Linked DNA regions of Homo sapiens: regions 1 and 2 are each linked to region 3. Evidence: promoter capture Hi-C in 16 types of primary human blood cells and fetal thymus (Javierre and others, 2016). All regions are on one chromosome and are shown on one strand. The core of a region is centred on a gene start or on the middle of the fragment in contact, and the rest is flanking DNA. Distances in the headings are between cores, read along the strand shown.

What was found. The method cuts DNA at HindIII sites, captures the fragments that hold promoters and counts their contacts. A CHiCAGO score of 5 or more calls a contact.
Region 1: the fragment with the promoter of RHOB here is called in contact with a fragment that was not itself captured in region 3 in 1 of 17 cell types (total CD8 T cells); the score reaches 5.3 in total CD8 T cells.
Region 2: the fragment with the promoter of LDAH here is called in contact with a fragment that was not itself captured in region 3 in 3 of 17 cell types (total CD4 T cells, total B cells and M0 macrophages); the score reaches 7.2 in total CD4 T cells.

What each region holds. Positions count from the first base shown.
Region 1 is chr2:20,445,153-20,449,488 of GRCh38, reverse strand. RHOB (ras homolog family member B) reads right to left here and starts at 2,415. Exons shown (of 1, transcript NM_004040.4): 1 at 49-2,415. The coding sequence starts at 2,023. The coding sequence ends at 1,433. RefSeq lists silencers at 1,997-2,206, 2,457-2,706. The HindIII fragment of the contact is 3,675 bases long and covers 1-3,146 here.
Region 2 is chr2:20,821,509-20,825,306 of GRCh38, reverse strand. It overlaps LDAH (lipid droplet associated hydrolase), which reads left to right and starts at 2,206. Exons shown (of 7, transcript NM_021925.4): 1 at 2,206-2,270. RefSeq lists enhancers at 2,023-2,412, 2,633-2,702, 2,505-3,330. The HindIII fragment of the contact is 14,255 bases long and covers 1-3,798 here.
Region 3 is chr2:19,347,365-19,351,661 of GRCh38, reverse strand. It overlaps OSR1 (odd-skipped related transcription factor 1), which reads left to right. Exons shown (of 3, transcript NM_145260.3): 3 at 1-177. It overlaps MIR4757 (microRNA 4757), which reads right to left and starts at 3,233; the gene lies at 3,157-3,233. RefSeq lists enhancers at 1,083-1,152, 3,476-3,605, 3,656-3,925, 4,076-4,135. The HindIII fragment of the contact is 1,482 bases long and covers 1,134-2,615 here.

The sequences.
Region 1 (4,336 bases), core at 1,166-3,665, 1.1 Mb before region 3:
ATTCACAAGGGTATTTTTACACACTATTAAACCACAAGAGCCATTTTATAAATGTCATCATCATAGTCTTTTAATATTTTACATAAAAAACTGTATACACAGCTTATAGAACTTTTATGTAAACATCATAAGCTCACCATTTTGTCATTTGTCAGTTTATTTAAAAAATAAAAAACAAGACAACAATTTAGTAGAAGTACCACTGGGAGGGAGGGGAGGGGAAAAAAGGATATACAGGGGCAGGTGTATTCTCTGTACAGAGGTGCAGAGAAAATTTCACATAGCTTTAGAGAATGCCTTGTGGAAAAAAAAAAAATAGGCCCCAATACTTGTTACTGCCCTTTATCAAAACTGTGTGCATGACCTGCACAAATAAAATCACAAAACAGTGTTGCCACATTCTTCAAGGAAACAAAGCAAAATTTAGTGGGTTTCTTTTCCCTCTCCTTGTTAAAAGTCATTTTTTAAAAACATCAGAAGTAGATGAGGTTACAGCGTACAAGTGTGGTCAGAATGCTACTGTCGTATGCAAATGACGAGTGCATTAAGTGTCAAACAATGAAACAATTGTGCAAAGAATAAAAAAACAAATTTTAGCCTTTAAATAAATCAAATAACATCAGTTTCTTGGACTGAACAATTTTCACTTCTAGGACAGGCACAAAGTTCGCTTATGGCAAAAACAACCCCACAGCGCATCCTCCCTCCTCCCTCCGGTAGCTGGTGGAGGGTTCGCAGCGGGCTGGCCCGCAGGAGAGGCTGTGCTGAAGCTGTGTCCTCCCCAAGTCAGTTGCAAATGTCTTCCCCAGGGGTTGGAAAGATGGTCAAGTCCTGTTCATGCTTGGGCGGGAGTCTGGCCCAGCCTGGGCCAGAGCGCTCACCCATCACCACCCTTAAATAACACCATCTTAGCTCCGAAAATAAAATTATATCTATATTTATATAACATCCCCCCATCCTCCCCAGCAGCCCTCCCCTCCCGCAGTACCCGGGGTCTATGTTACAGACAAGGGATATCAAGCTCCCGCTGGTGAAGGGCGAACATCTGATGGGGCGCGGCCACACTCCCGCGCCAATCTCGCCCCCGGGGATCAGAGGCGGGGGTGGGGTGAAAATGGGGCGAGGGGAGTCGAACAGACACACAGCCACACACTCTGAGGCCCGGCTCTTCAGAAAAGCATGCTCAGGGGACCCTTGGCACTCAGTGGGGAGCCCAGGCCTGTGCAACACAGCTGGACGCACACAGACACTGGGATGGGGGCGCCCGGTGCCCACGCCAAGTCCTGGCGCAAGCCAGAGGCGTCAGCAGACAGATGCCAGGCAGGCCGGTGGGGTCCTTGTGGGACACGGGTCTCCCCTTCTCCGGGCTCGCGGGGGACTGGTCCAGGAGGGGGAGCCGTGCCGGCAGGGGCAGGCGCGACGGGCGCGGCCCTCATAGCACCTTGCAGCAGTTGATGCAGCCGTTCTGGGAGCCGTAGCGCTTCTGCAGCGCGGCGCGCGTGGCCGTCTCGAAGACCTCGCGCACGCCTTCCTTGGTCTTGGCAGAGCACTCGAGGTAGTCGTAGGCTTGGATGCGCACGGCCATGGCGCGGCCGTCATCCGTGCGCACGGGTTCCTGCTTCATGCGGGCCAGCTCTGTGCGGACATGCTCGTCGCTGCGCAGGTCTTTTTTGTTGGCCACCAGGATGATGGGCACATTGGGACAGAAGTGCTTCACCTCGGGGACCCACTTCTCGGGGATGTTCTCCAGCGAGTCCGGGCTGTCCACCGAGAAGCACATGAGAATGACGTCGGTGTCCGGGTAGGAGAGCGGCCGCAGGCGGTCGTAGTCCTCCTGGCCCGCCGTGTCCCACAGCGCCAGCTCCACCTGCTTGCCGTCCACCTCAATGTCGGCCACATAGTTCTCGAAGACGGTGGGCACGTACACCTCGGGGAACTCGTCCTTACTGAACACGATCAGCAGGCACGTCTTGCCACACGCGCCGTCGCCCACCACCACCAGCTTCTTGCGGATGGCCGCCATGAGCGGGCCGGGCCCGGGCAGCAGGAGGGGGCCCGCGAACGCCTCGCTGCCCTCCCGCTCGCCGCTCACTGCTCACCTCGGGCTGCGCGCAGGTGGCGAGAGGGTCGCTAGCTGCACCCGGGCCCCGCGGTGGCGCGTTCTCTCGCTGCGCTTCGGCTGCCGCGGCGGGGGCGGTGGGGGCGCGGGGGCATAGGGCGCACCGTGCGTCTCGCCGCGCTGCTCCCGGGCGGTGGTCGCTCTGCTCACCCCAGGCCGGGGATCGGCGGCTTTGTGCGTAACGCGGGCTCGGGCAGCAGACTCGGGCGGTGGACTCGGCCTAGCTCTCTCCCGGGTCTCTCCGGGCCTCGCTGAGCATACAAGACAACAGCTCCAACCAGACTGCGGTGGCAGATGAGGGCTGCGGCCCTAGCGCCCGCTATTTAAAGAGTCCGGCCACTTTCTTAATATAGCCGTCCAATGGGAAACCAGCCGGCTGAGCTCATCGCTGCGGAGCTTAGCTCTGATTGGCCGCCCCCTGCAGCCCGAGGGCGGGGCAGGGCCAGCTTGATTGACGGCCCAGGCCGCCGGGCTGGGAGAGGCAGCGACCGGGGAGTCCGCGCTGCTGCTGCCGCTGCGGGGCTCTGGCGGTACCCGGGTCCCCTCCTTCGCCGCAGCGTTTGCGCGCGGGGTCCGGGAGCTGGCTGTCTGGAGCCTCCAGGGTCTGGGCGAGCGGTTCCGAGACAGGCTTCACTCAGTGGGGCGTTGGCGACTCCCATTCAGAATTGCCCCTCTTCCTGGCAAACTCCCGGCGGGTGGTCGGGCCTGTGGGGGAGGGGCAGCTCTTTTAACGTGGTTTTGTTTTTAAATAAACAGACACACACACACACACACACACACACACACCCCACACACACACTTTTGTTCCCAAACAAGAGTGTTTTCTCTTTTCTTTTGGAGGTGGCCCCTCCTGTGGTTTAGGGCCCCACCCGGGTACTCGCCGTGGGCCAGCCTCGGGTTTGGACCCGAGAGGCGACCGGCTGGCTGCAAACTGGCTCTTCCAAGTCCCGCCGCCCCTACCCTTCCCAACCCCCAGCTTAGGTCTCTAGGTGAAGATTAAGGGAAGAGGTGCGGAGTGGCCCAAGCTTGACAACGGAAAGGGAAGGTCGAGGCTCGAACACTTGGAGGAAGTTACCGGACAGGAAGAAGCCCCTTCGGCCCCTCTTTTCACTATGAACTCTGATCCCGGTTCTTAAAACAGAGAACTGTCTGAGATAAATTGTACAATAGAATATACACTATTGTACAATAGAATGTACAATAGAATATACACTATTGTACAATAGAATGTACAATAGAATATACACTATTGTACAATAGAATGTACAATAGAATATACACTTGTACAATAGAATGTACAATAGAATATACACTATTGTACAATAGAATGTACAATAGAATATACACTATTGTACAATAGAATGTACAATAGAATATACACTATTGTACAATAGAATGTACAATAGAATATACACTATTGTACAATAGAATGTACAATAGAATATACACTATTGTACAATAGAACGTACAATATTCCGGGTTCAATAGAATCCAACCACCCCAAGACCCCTGAGCAGACGAAAAGGCTTGAGGCTGGAGAAGAGGGGAGGAGTAAGGGGCTAGCAAATGGGGCACAGCGGGTTAGGGGGTGTCCCCTCTATTGGGGCGTAGCCTCCTGATGCACGCCAGGACTGAACTCATTTATCCTGTAGATCCTGCATGAAATGACAGTACCGGTGATCCGGAAAGACCCAAGTCAACCGATTTCTACGGATAAAAGAGGAAGAAGGGGATAGGGGGAAAGGGGAGTCGGGGAGGGCTCCCGGGCAGGAGAAACAGCCTGAACACAAGCAGGAAGGTGGGAAGGAGCGGGGCAAACTCTAGGAGCTGCATATGCTGGGGCTCATGAGTGCTAAAGTATTAACAGCATGGGCTGGGCTCTGTCTATCCATTGCATGGGAAATGTCTGCAAACTGTTTTTTCAGCAAAGGAGGGACCCACCACATGACCGGGAGGTGGTTGCCTCCTGTCTCCGTCTCTGTCTCGGTCTCTGTCAGTTGTTGGAGGGCCAGGATTCTGTCTTATCTCCGCATCTTGAAGACCCAGCACAATGCCTGGCATTTACAAGGATCAGTAAATGACTGTGGGGAATTAACCCGAATGCTCAGAAACGCAGGTGGAATTTTCTGGGGGTTTCTTACCTCAGTTCCACACTTCGCTTTAACAATTATCTAACCAGGCCGGGCACAGTACCTCATGCCTGTGATCCCTGGGCGT
Region 2 (3,798 bases), core at 957-3,456, 1.5 Mb before region 3:
CCTGTGGGCCCCCCTCTTTGAGATGCCCCGCCAATGCACGGCAGGCAAGCCCCAAATTGGGGATTTGCCCAGTAGAGTTCTTAGCTTCGCCAAGAAAGAATTCAAGGGTGAGCCGGTGGTGTTAAATAGCAACTTTTACTGAAGTAGTAGTGTCCAGAAGCAGCAGAGATACTGCTCCTTGCAGAGCAGGGCTACCCCATAGGCAGTGTGTCCAGAGTAGCATCTGAAAGGCAGTTCTTCTGTCATATTTATAATCATTTTTAATTACAGGCAAATTAAGGGGTGAATTATGCAGAAATTTCTAGGAAAAGGGTGGTAACCTCTGGGTTGTCAGGTTGTTGCCATGGAAAGGGGCATTAATATGGAAAGCTGCTTCCTCCCTGCCCCTGTTTTAGCTAGTCCTCAATTTGGTCTGGTGTCCAATTCCTGCATCCTACCTCACTGCATTTTTAGGTTAAGCCAATATATAACCTCCATATATTGATTTATGACTTTGCCTATAACCTCTGACACCCCTGCATTTAAAAACCCTTACCTATAAACAATTAGGGAGTTCAAGACTTAAGCACTAACTGACCAGTTCTCCTTGCTTGGGACCCTACAATAAATGCCTCACTTTCTTTCACTATAATCCTGATGTCAGTGTTTGGTCTTGCTGCACAGGCAATTGGACTCCAGTTTGGTTTGATAACAGCTCTTGAGAGATTGGAAAAGAGAGAGTCCCTGAGAGAGTGGGTTGTTTTCCACCTCCTGTTTGGTCTGTTTTCACATGTATCAGCTTCCCCTTTGACCTTCTACCATGTTGTGACACTGCACAAAAAACTCTAACCAGAACTGAGCAGATGCTCACACTATGCCCCTTGAGCTTTCCAATGTGCAGAACCATGAGCTAAGTAAACCTCTTTTTTAAATCCAAGCATACTTTGAAGATATTGGGGGTTCAGTTCCATACTACCACAATAAAGCAAACATCACAATAAGGCAGTTCACAGAATTTTTTTGGTTTCCCAGTGCATATAAAATTTATATTTACACTGTACTGTAGATTATTGTGTACAACAGTATTATGTCTAAAAAAAGTACATACTAAGAAAAGAAAAATAGCCCAGAGCTGTCTGAGCTATGTGAGGTATGCAAAATTTATTAGACCCGGACAGAAGTGAATACTGGCTTCCGCCACGCCTTCCCATGCCTTAGGGCAATTGTTAAAGGCATTTTGTTCTTTATTAGCTGCCTCACCCATTATCTTTATGTTCCTGGAATTTGTGATACAAGGAAGAAAGCATAGCCAGTCAATAGCTTAAGTTTTTTAAATATAAATTCTTGGTAAACAAGTTAAGCTCTGCCTCCTCTCCTTTCCTTAAAAACCGGCTCACGCCTGTAATCCCAGCACTTTGGGAGGCCGAGGCGGGTGGATCATGAGGTCAGGAGATCGAGACCATCCTGGCTAACAAGGTGAAACCCCGTCTCTACTAAAAATACAAAAAATTAGCCGGGCGCGGTGGCGGGCGCCTGTAGTCCCAGCTACTCGGGAGGCTGAGGCAGGAGAATGGCGTGAACCCGGGAAGCGGAGCTTTCAGTGAGCCGAGATTGCGCCACTGCGGTCCGCAGTCCGGCCTGGGCGACAGAGCAAGACTCCGTCTCAAAAAAAAAAAAAAAAAAAAAAAAAAACCTACTCCGACTGCTGCTAATTGGAGTGTATATTCAAGGCAACTTGAATCTAAGCTCCTGAGTGGCCATTCTCAAGCACTGAGCCCAAATAAACTCTATACTTAATATTATTCTCTGAATTTTCTTAAAGTTGGCAACACCTTAATTAAAAAAATACTTTATTGATCATGCTTATGAACATGATCAAATGAGAATCAACTTTCCTGTGTATGTGGGGAAGATATGCAACTAGTAACGCAGAAAGAGGGAAATGGGAAGAGGGAGAAAAGAGGGGCAGACATGGAACAAATGAGAGAGAAGGAAAGGGAAGCCAGAAGCCAGAAGCACATCAAGGATGACAGAAAATAAAAGGCGGATAAAATTCAAATGAAAAAGAAAGGAAAACCCCGACACCCTCCAAGAGGTCTCTCTGATCTGGACCACCGGCTCCAAGCCAGTAAGAAATCTCCCAGCCAGCTGTGCGCCGCGCGCCAGGCTGACATCGGCTTCCCGGATCAGCTCCGGCGCGGTACTGTGACGTCACCTGAGGGGGGCACTTCCGGTCTCGTGCCGCCTTCCCAGGACCCTCAGGGAGAGCGGGCAGCCTTCCAGGTGGACAGGTGAGGTACAGCTTGCCGAGCTCAGGGTGACTGCCCAAAGGAAGGACGGGTGGGCAGGCACGCGGGATCTGGCGCCCCTTCTTCTCTATGGTTCCTCGCAGAGCCCCTGTTGCCCTGGGCCAGATGGCCCGTAGCAGCAAAAATAATACTGTTCCGACAGCTCGCGAGTTCGGAGCCACTTGGCCTGGGAGTCCCTTGAGTTGCAGGCCGGGCAGTCGCTCACCCGAGCGCGGTAATGCAGCATTTGAACCCCTAAGTGTAGCCCACCTGTAGGGAGTCTTATGGTGCCCCCGCGGAGGAGTAGAGGCCAAAAAGTTGGGCAGCTGGCCGGGAAGAACTCGCTAGGAGGGGTCAAACTCTGGGCCGGGAGTGTTCTTTGCCCCCGGCGTTTAGTGCTCACGCCGCCTTTTATTCACGCTGAAGACCTTAACCGTAAACCCTCATCCTTGGGTCTTAGTTTGGTTTTGTTCCCCACGCAAGACAGAATGCAGATTGGAACACTTTATTCCTTGGTTAATTCGTATCTTCCCTCGCAAGTAGTTACCGGACACCTGCTTTGTGTCCTGTGTACCAAACACAAGAGTTGATAGTCCTGGCCGGGCGCCGTGGCTCACGCCTGTAATCCCAGCACTTTGGGACCCCGAGGCGGGCGGATCAGGAGGTCAGGAGATCGAGACCATCCTGGCTAACACGGTGAAACCCCATCTTTACTAAAAATACAAAAATAAATACATAAATAAATAAATTAGCCGGGCGTGGTGGCGGGCGCCTGTAGTCCCAGCTACTCGGGAGACTGAAGCAGGAGAATGGCGTGAACCCGGGAGGTGGAGCTTGCAGTGAGCCGAGATGGCGCCACTGCACTCTAGCCTGGGCGACAAAGTGAGACTCAGTCTCAAAAAAAAAAAAAGAGTTGATAGTCCTTGAGTTGAAAGAACAAATCTGTATGGAGAAAGAGATACAACCAAAAGAAACCCAGAAGATTTAGAAGCATCTCCAGAATGTTTATTCTCAAAAGCTGTTTTTTAATTAAACTTCTTTCTGAAACTATACGTAGGAGTGTCTCTTGTGTGTTTCCCCATTTTTCCACCTGAAGGTTAAAGACTTAGAAACCTGCTAAGGCCCCTCTTTCCAGCATGTAGCATTCTAGGGGGATAATCAGGGCAACACAGTGGGTGCCCATCTAAAATTTTATATTTTAATATTTTGCTTTTTGATAACTTAATGCCTTCAGACTGGAGGATTTTTTCTTTCTTTTTTTTAATTTTTTTAAAATTATACTTTAAGTTCTAGGGTACATATGCACAACGTGCAGGTTTGTTACATATGTATACATGTGCCATGTTGGTGTGCTGCACCCATTAACTTGTCATTTACATTAGGTATATCTCCTAATGCTATCCCTCCCCACTCACCCCACCCCACAACAGGCCCCGGTGTGTGATCTCCCCCTTCCTGTGTCCAAGTGTTCTCATTGTTCAATTCCCACCTATGAGTGAGAACATGTGGTGTTTGGTTTTTTGTCCTTGCG
Region 3 (4,297 bases), core at 625-3,124:
GGGCCTGGGGTCTGCAGGGGGCCCGGCCTCCGCTGCCGCGACACTGCGAGGGAGCAGCCAGCCAAGAGCCGGGCGTTATATTGCGATTGGCACTTTATGCTGACCATCGGTAACGGACATTTATCACTGGAGTTTTTTTTTTTTTTAACTATTAAATAAACGGTTATTTTACAGGCATTGCAGGATGGGTAATTTCCCTCCTAAACGCAGGAAACCGGTTGGGTCCTCTCTTTGAGAGGACCAGGTTTCTCTGCTGGACGCCAGCGTGTCCCCCTCCTACCACCCCGTCTTATTAGGATGACAGGGCTGAGATGTGTGGAGCAACGTCCTCTCTCCCGGTTAGGTCTGCCTCCGCCCCACCATGTATTGATTTTCCTACTTTTCTCCTCCGCCTCAGGGATAGGGTCTCAGCCTTCCCACTCCTCACCGCTAAAGTGCTGTGAGTTTACGAAGAACCTAAGCCTGAAGGCAGAAAACCGCCCGTGAGAAATCCCAGAGTCTCTGGGTGCTGAGACAGCGTCTCTGGGTGCTGAGATCGCTTAGGGTGCAAGAAGAGAAGAGAATGTCTTTCCCCACCCTAACCGAAGGCCTCCCTCCTGGCCTCTGGCTTTGGGGTGGGAAGGACCCGCCCTCACAGAGCCTCAGAGCTGTAATATTTCCCGTTCCCCGGGTCTCAACACTCGGGTGCAAATACACAATGACCGCTGCCTCCCCGGAACCCCAAACCAACATCACTCCCTCCCTTAGGGTCCCTCAGACACAATTCTCTGCTTGGGACTTGTCCCCTCCTAGGATCGAGGCTCTGCACCCGCGAAGATTCCCTACAATTTTAAAGCCTTGTCAGGAATGGTGGGGGCGGGCGCCCTGGGAGGCCCGGGACGCTTAGGAGGAAAAATTCGAGTCCGCCTTCCATAAGCTGAACCTTCCCTGGGGTGTCTAGTTTTCCCACAGTTAGAAGCCAGGCCGCCGGGGCTCTTCTCCTTGGGGCAAGGCGGGGCTCCCCCCAGCTCCAGCGCCCTGACCGCGGGACCGCGCAGGCGGTGGCGCCCGCGGCCTTTCCCAAGCGCAGGATGGCCTCTCCAGCTTCAGCGCCCGGAGCGCGGCGGCCGCGGATGACAACTGGACTATAAGCTTCCCTGCTGCAGGCACCAAAAATCCCAGCCTCAAGCCGGGCCCTGCTGGCTGAGAAAGCGGCAGGGGATGCAGAAGTTAAAACGCTCTGGGCTTTCACCACCCCATCCCCACCTCCTCCGGGAACGCTCCTGAGTCCTGTGCGGGCTAGAACTTCGAGGCCCGGGAACCCAACTGGGCACTGGAGGCTGGCCCTGCCGGCGCGGACCAGCCCTGGCCTCCACGCTCAGAGCCACGCTGCCCCCTGCTGGCCAGCCCTGGAGGGGCGGCCCAGGACTTGGCACCTCAAGGGGTCTTGCCCGCAACCTCGCGAAACCACCAAGCATCTATGTGTTTGGTCCCAAAATCTTGACTGGCCCCAGGACCCACTGTGGATGAGGGGCAGGGCGCTGCTGAGTCTGGTCTGGTCTGAGGGATCTTCATTAGTTGGGCACTATCCCAATCCTTCTTCCAAGCAGTTCACAAGGTCGCGCGCGGCCCAGGATTATGCCCCCATTCCTGAGAACTGGGGCCTCTGAGTGCGTGGAAGTGGGGCTAGCCAGTAGGTTTGCGGGTGGTGTAGACGGTCTGCGCCCAAGCGGCGCACGCAGGTTGTGGTGTGGTTTGTGCCTGACCATAGCTTGTACTAGGGTCAACTGCAGAATCTTCCTTGGTTTCTTTATGAAGCCCCAGGAGGCTGCGGGCCATGGTTGCTCCAAAACAACCAGAGTGCATGGGTGAACACACACACACACAGGGTGCCCTTCCTAGTCCCTTGGCTCTTTCTGGGATGCTATCCTTGGGGTTGTCTATGGCTGCTCTTCCCTAGCCCCTGACATCCCTCCACCTCCCAGAACACATCATTCCACCTCCCTGAAGATCGAGCCTCTGCAGTTCCCGGGGCCTCAGGAAGCTACAAATGCGGTGAAATGGGGAGGTTTGCCAGCCACGTTAATCCTTTTTGGGTCACCCCACCTCCAGCACTGTGAAAACCCACCCAGTCCAAGGTCTGCAACTGAATGTCAGTATCAAGTGTGCATCCTCAAAATAACAGATTTCCAGTGCAGAATTTTAAATTGGGGATGGGGAATGGAGGGTGGGACAGGATGATGCGCAGCAACTCCCTGGCCCTCTCAGAATGCCCCTATTTGCTCTACTGATGTTTGCTGTTATCCCGGTGGACTCAGAGATCACGTCTCCCTGCAGCTTGTTCTAGTGATTCATAGACTGTGCAGAAACAGTAACTACAGGTGGAAAGGCCGGCTGGGCCTGTGGGCCATCCGACCCTATCCAGGCTACAATTCCCAGGTGATGTGGTTGGTTGATGTGGTTGGAAACTAGTGCCCCAGTTTCCTGCTCATACTCAGTGTGGGTTGCACAAAAAGTGCAATTGAGAGGGTCAGAAATGTTGGGTGGGTTTCCTTGCCTGCCCCAATTTTTCCCCCAATGCATCTCTAGAAAGTCCCAGCTCTTGTCTCCTCTCCAGACCCCCATCACAATAAGCTTCGCTGGTCCCAGTGACTGTGTGGCGCTCAGCGTTGCTGGGGCTATTTTTCAGGAGAAAAAGAGGCCGATGGTGCTGGCCAGGTGGAGTTCAGCTGGGGCCCTTCTCAAAGCTGCTAGGCCTGAAGTTTTTGTGTACGGCTGGGGAAGCTATCTGGCCTAGGACAGCCTCTTGGGCAGGGAGGGCGGAAGGTGCCAGAGACCCTGGGCACAGCCCGGAACTGCCAGATGCTGTCTCCGGTAAGATATCAGGTGCTTCCAGGGAAAAGAACAGCTTGCAGGAGCTTCTTCCTGGGAGAGAGTGTTTCAGGTTCTACCCCCTATTTCCAGAGTGTAGTTAGGGGTTAGGGACCCACTAAAAAATGTTTTCCCGCGTACTTCCTTGCCGCGGAATTCACTGCTCACATTGTGGGGAGGGACGCAATGTGATGCTCTGGGACTCCCTGACGTGACCTCAGCTCCCAGAACCTGAGGACCTGATATCCTAAATCCCCTAGAATCTTGGTGTCCCCATAGCCGGCTCAAAAGAGTCCCGTCCCACCTCTCAGAGCGCGAAGCCTCTGTGACGTCATGGTCTCCTCCCGCAGACACCGTGACGTCACAGAGGCCTCGGGCTGGAACACAAGGCTTGAATGAGGTCCACAGAGGCATTCCATTACGTAACTTCGTGACGTCACAGATGGGCCCCGCCTCGGGCTAACATATCCACACCTCTCAGCCCCGCCCCGCCCCGCCCCGCGAATCGGCCCAGGCAGGCGCCACGAATCGGTTCGTCTCCACTAACACGATCCGCAGACCCGAAGCGTTGGCAGCTGTCCTGAGTGAAGGGCGGTGCCCTGCAGCGTCCTCTTCTTGAATCAGTGGTTTAGAGTGGTCTCCCTGCCCGCGGGGTTTCAGGGCAGCAGTTGCCGCGGCGTACTCATCCCACCCACTTCTGCGCCCACTATGGCCGCGCCCACTGCGGCCCCGCCCTCCTCTCCCACTGCGCAAGCGCCACGCGCAGGCGCAAAAGGAACTCGCAGGCCAGTGCTGCTGGTGCCGGAGTCCGGAAGCTGACGGCGGTGCGTGGAAATCGTCGCGGAGTTCAGTGTTTTGCTTTTGGGGATCACAAACTCAGGGGCACACTGGCCCGGCGGGCGCATCCAGCCGTTGGCGTATGTGTGGGCAGAAAATGCAGACGAGAAAGTGGGTGGCGCTTGGCTAATGCGGGCTGGAGCCCTTGACTTGGAGTGCCCAGTCCAGCGCCGCGGTCCTACAGAGGCCCCTGGGATCTGAGCTGGCGAGGGTGGCGCGGCGGGTCCTACCCAAGGCCAGAAAGTTCGCTGCGGTCCCAGCTCTTTTGGGCAGCCTCTCTGAGGTAGAGCTCTCAGACGGTCTTCAGCCCGGTGGAACGCCCTGGTGTCCCACTCCACCCGTTCATCCCGACTTCCTGGGCCGTCTCTAGAGCCCAGTTGGTAGTTGGGCCCAGTTGGCATATGTTTCAGATGAAAAATTCATTACGGACTTGAGATGCTAGGTTGGAGACAAATCTCATGTCAGTGGCAGAGAAAGAATTCGAAGCTGTGCTTTCATTGAGGGGAAGGGCCAGAAGACCCAGCTCTAGGTTTTTCTGACAAGCACAAGTTTTGGGGAAGTCCCTGTGCTTCACTAGCCTCAGTTTTCTTCCTATAATGGGGGTAGGGCT